2 separate regions of the Homo sapiens genome follow, and region 2 is linked to region 1. The links are contacts of gene promoters, found by promoter capture Hi-C in blood cells and fetal thymus (Javierre and others, 2016). All regions are on one chromosome and are shown on one strand. The core of a region is centred on a gene start or on the middle of the fragment in contact, and the rest is flanking DNA. Distances in the headings are between cores, read along the strand shown.

What was found. Contacts are between HindIII fragments. The CHiCAGO score rates a contact against its expected background, and 5 or more counts as called.
Region 2: a contact is called between a fragment that was not itself captured here and the fragment with the promoter of GNPDA2 in region 1, in 1 of 17 cell types (M1 macrophages). The highest score is 7.0, in M1 macrophages.

Annotation. Positions count from the first base shown.
Region 1 is chr4:44,725,201-44,727,900 of GRCh38, reverse strand. GNPDA2 (glucosamine-6-phosphate deaminase 2) reads left to right here and starts at 1,345. Exons shown (of 7, transcript NM_138335.3): 1 at 1,345-1,427. RefSeq lists an enhancer at 1,013-1,142 and a silencer at 1,635-1,929. The HindIII fragment of the contact is 3,169 bases long and covers 128-2,700 here.
Region 2 is chr4:47,386,805-47,389,504 of GRCh38, reverse strand. All of the region lies in intron 5 of GABRB1 (gamma-aminobutyric acid type A receptor subunit beta1), which reads right to left. Among named protein-coding and RNA genes, the nearest start is that of COMMD8, 76 kb to the left of the region's middle. The HindIII fragment of the contact is 4,382 bases long and covers 1-2,700 here.

The sequences.
Region 1 (2,700 bases), core at 96-2,595:
TTCTTTACCTAAACTTCCTTATGTGGCACATATCTGTAATTCAAGACTGTAATTCAGTCTCCACCTTTCTACAGCATTCTTTCTAAAACACGTATGTTCTAGTCTCTTATCTTCAATTCATAAAGCTTAAGTGACTCCCTATTGCCTACAATACAAAGCCTAAATTCTATGCATAGCCTACAAACTACTTCATCATTTTACCTCAATCTTTTTTGGAGAGACAGGGTCTTGCTATGTTGCCCAGGCTGGTCTCCAACTCCTGGGTTCAAGCCATCCATGCACCATGACCTCTGAAAGTGCTGGGATTACAGGCGTGAGTCACCGAATCTGGCCAAAAATCGCTTTTGCAAACTTACTGAAGGCGATAGTACTAATAAACCTGTCTATTATCAGTATGTGAGCAATGTTGCTGTTTGAAGCTAAATCAACGAGAATGTAACATCCTACTCTTCACTAAAGGATGCAAGAGGAGTCATTACATTCAAAGAAGCAGGCTGGATTTACAACCCAGGTGAAAAACTTCATATAACGAGTTTGAGGACACAGCGTTTTACATTTTTTTAACTTGTAGTTTCCACAGAAACAGAACCTTAAGTTGGCTAGGAGTCAAGATTGTATTGTTCCTAACAGAACCCTAAACGGTGTTATTAATGGAACAGTGTTCCTGATGGAACATGGTGAAGACACAACACACTTTTCTCCTTTTGAATGATAGCTGCTTTCTTTACAATAATTTCCACAGCCCAATTCCTTCCCACTCCTGTATAAACATCTGTGATACCCAGCTCAAAGCTGATTCCAGCTTCCCCTATCCCTTTCTTAGACTCATTCAGCAAAAGCCAGTACCCTATTATATAGTGTTTTCTCTTACTGAGACGCTCCCGATTTCCCATGGTACTGTTTGCCCTTTTGCAAACTTTGATGAGTTTTTTGACACAAGACGCTTATCTGTCATTGCGTTTGCAAATATGCATTCAATAGCTTGGAGTAGAGAGAGAAATGTATTCATAAATGGCAAATATATTCATGTTGCCAAACAGCAACATAAGCAACAAAGTACGTGTGAGCACTACGGTCTTACATACTAAATCTCATAAGCCTAAAGAATCTACTGCAAATCCCTCTTTGAAAGATGGGGGGGAGGGGAAAGTAGCGTAAAGTGATGACCCAGAAACTGCGATCTTCCAGGCAAGAAGAGCGCCCAGCCGCACCGCACTCGGACCGAACTCCTCGCGTCTCACCTCAGGCGTCCTAAAGGCGGTGCGCATGCGCAGCGCCCGCCAGCCACGCCGCGGTTCCTTCCTGCGCCTTTATCTGCATCCGGGTCCGTGGGATTCGCGCTCCACTGGTCAGCTGGGGTCGCTCTCGGGTGGTTGGGTGTTGCTTGTTCCCGCTGTTCCAGCATCGAAGAACCATTGGGTCTGCCGGTAAGTTTAGCGGGGGGTGCGGCGGGGGCGCCAAGAAGGGGACTCGGGTCGGGGGACCCGACGGCAACTTCGCCCTGTGCGGCCTTTGTGCTGAGACTGGGACGCCGGGCCGGGGCGGAATGGGTGCTCAGGAACCTCGAGGCTGGGGGCGCGTGGGGTCTCCCGTATTGCCACTCGCGGACCTGGTTGTCCTCTCCGGATTTGTGCCTACGGGAGAAGGCGTCCCTGCCCTCTCCTCTCTCGCGGCTTCTTCTTGACACCTCTCTCTACACTCGTTAAAAATTCCTAACAGTCATCCTCATTTGCATTCGCTGTCCTTTGCCAAGTGAGGGCCAGGCAAACGCGCAGCTGAGGGGAATCTGCAGCCCCCGCCTCCCGGGCAGGAACCACAGCCTTCTTTGCTGTCTCTCGTCCCTCCTCGGGTCGGTCCCACACGCGCGGCCAGGCCACCCTTACGCTTTCAGGACAGGTCAGGTTGAGTAGGGAAAAGCTCAGAGCAGAGGTTCTGCAAGTGTAGATTCTGGTCTTGGCCCCGCCATTAACTAGCTGTGTAACTTCACGGGTGTAGAAGTTGTCATCCACCATTGAAGTTTTGCGATTTATATTCAGCAGCCCTTTTTCCTAGCGATGCACATCCAAAATGAATCAGCACCTGAAGGAAGACGAGGGAAAGGGTGGTGCTCTGTTGTTTTTTGATGCTGTCTTGTGATGCCAGAGAATTGCATAAGGCGACAATAGTTTGGATCTCTGAGGATTGGCAAAAACTGGAAAAGTCAAATCTTAAAAACTTAAATGTGGTGAAGAAATTCTTCTTTGCTCTGGGTGAAGGGATTCATTTGGGACTTTTGGAGGTGACTCTGCGCCCTCCAGAGAGTTTAAGAAAACAAAAAGTTGCCTGTACCTTGGTCTGAGAGACTTGCTTAAACTTCGTTTCAGTGAGATGTGTGGTGTTCTTAACAAATTTCACCTGATTATGAATATCCCCTGTGATAATTTGCAAAAGCAGAGATTCCTTGGACTTCATTTCAGATCTTTTGAAACACTGTGTCTAGGGAGAGGGACCTGAGAATCTGTATTTTTAACTAGCATCGTAAGTGATTCTCAACCGGTAAGACATCTTTGGCTAATGTCTCTTTGAGTCAGAAACACTTAGTTTTAAAGCCAGCTCCCCGGGCCACTTTTTAACGTCAGCAATAAACTTCTCGTAGTTGCAGTTTTCTGTATATGAAGAGTGAGAATAATGCTTTCAACCTCAGAGACAAGTGATTCTAAG
Region 2 (2,700 bases), core at 99-2,598, 2.7 Mb before region 1:
AGATAGCCATATTACTACTTTCTGAGTCTGCTCGGTAGTTAATTAGGTTTTTAGATAATTGTGAGAGAACATTTTCAACGGTCCATTTTCAAGGCATGATAAATCTAAGCACTGGCAGCCCGCTTGCAAATGAAACAAACCTTACAGCTCATGCACCTAGAAGGTCACAATAAGAGAACAGAATGCAGAGGAAGGGTCAGCCCATAAAAGGGAAGACAGTTTTGTTATTGAGAAATCAAATCTTAAGCAGGGAAGGGGATGGGGATAACCTTATAAGGGGATAATGAAACTTAGGTGATGTCCAGGAAAATTGTAACCCCACAGTACTCAACCAATGAGGAACTGGGGGAGGAACTTTGTGTAAGAGATAAATTACTTGATGTGACTTCCCCAAGTGTGCCTGCCCACCAAACACCCAATCTTGCAAAGCCATTATTAAAAAGTCTCACTTTCACTGTTCTTCATACCTCTAAGTCCATTCTTTGGGTTTGGATGGGTGAGTGTGTTTCTGATAATAATCATTAGAAAACATGTTCTATCATAAGTAAAAATTCATCTTCTTGGAGAGTATCCACCATGACATCCTTGCCCACCTCTGTGTTAACAGAAAACAAACCCAATCCTTTTTTTCTTTTTTTAACATAATAACACCTCCCATCTTTGAGAACACTTTTCATGCTCCCTTTCTTTTATTCTCCAGGCTCTGGTCCTTCCCAGGGTATGCTCAGTCTTAGGAACTTTTTTCTGCTCACAGTTTCCAGTTTGCTTACATGTCCCATGAAGTATGCAGCCCTAAACTTAGGGGTAGTCATGTCTACCTTGTTTCTTTTACCACTTTTTGGGTTATCTGTCTTCTTTCTCTATTGCACAGACCTGTCCCCAAGGTTAATTCTGCCCTTGTTATGGAGCCACTCTTGATTGACATAAGAATTAAGCAGCAGCAGATTTGGACGTATCCCCAGATTTGCGATCATAGAATCCAACCATGTTTTCTGATTTCTTTAGCATCCTCTGGAAAGCCCCATTACTTCCAACCAGATCTAGGACCTAACACACCTAAAGCAAGGTCAGGATACTCAGGCTTCTCCCTACTCCATTTCGACCCTGGCATTTTCTATGTTTGGACAATATGTAAATTCCCAGAGTGACTTTTCTAGAGCCCGGTTTCTTCATATCTGACTGTTTACACTGCCTAGTCTATTAATCCTTGTCTACACTAGACCATACCCATTTAAAGGCATTTAGACTCCAGGCATTATATCAAATACATTAAAATGTATTCACATTCCATGTTAAACATAATTTACATATCACTATAAAACATTTAATTGCAGCTTATTTGTTAACATGTTATACTAATTTTAATATTGTAATATTCTTTATGTATTTTGGAGCCAATAATCCGTTTAAGACCCTTGATTAATTTGTAGATGTAGACACTTTGCCTATAATGCGTGTTGGCTATATGGCTGAACCTTTGACACCAATGGGACTCTAGTGCAACGGCCAAGATCTCCTTCCGAGCTTTATTTATTTGGAATATGTCCAACTCCTCTTAAATTTCCCACTGATAGAAATTCTGCTGCCACCATTAGATCTCCTGACCCTGATTGTGGCCCTTCCTGACTTTTAAATTGGCTGTCTACCTGTAATTTCTCAAGATGAAATTGCCTGCCAGGTTGAACTGCATGTGATAGGCATCCATCTGGGCTATTCAGCTGGGGTTAAGCCTCTATACAACCCTGTTCTGACCTCCTCTACCATTTTTCTGGTCCCATGTGGATGAGATCCCCCCATGCCTGCCCAAGTCATGACATTCTTGGAGTGACTGGCTAGCAAAGTCTAGTCACTGGTCTTCCATTAAAGCAGCACAAGTTCAAATTCGCTTTTTCCACAATCAAATGGTTTTTACTTTCTTTTGGACTCACACATAAGAACTAATATTGTTCCCATTTAATTGTATCGAGCCAGTTTGATAATTTTATCTAATTCAATTTGACTTACTATTTTAGCCTATTGAGTTTTTGCTTTTTGAGATGGAGTCTCACTCTGTGGCCCAGGCTGGAGTGCAGTGGCACAATCTTGGCTTATTGCAACCTCTACCTCCCAGGTTCAAGTGATTCTCCTGCCTCAGCCTCCAGAGTAGCTGGGATTACAAGTGCATAACACCATAAAAAAAATTAGGCCATCTAATTTTTATATTTTTAGCAGAGATGGGGTTTCTTCATGTTGACCAGGCTGGTCTTGAATTCTGACCTCAGGTGATCCACCCGTCTTGGCCTCCCAAAGTGGGATTACAGTCATGAGTCACTGTGCCTGGGCTATTTTTGTTTCTGGATGCTGATTTGCTCAACCTCTTAGTTTCATGTTATCTGCAAATTTGAAAAACATGCCTTTTATCATTATTCCCTTGATTGAGACAAATGTGGACTGGCAGAGACAAAGACAGAGCCCTGTAAGATTTCCCTGGTAATATTCCTGTAGGATGAATCAGGTCTTTAATCAGCACTTTGTGGGGTGACACCATCATTTATCCATTTAATATTTTCCTAATTGTTTAGCCTTTCGTCTATATCTCTATGTTTCTCATATTTTTCTTGATTGATTTTGCAGCCTATCAGATAAGAAAGTAAGGTCTGTTAGACTTATTTTTAGAAACATCAAGCTGCTTCCATAGATTACTGATTCTCCTTTTACAGA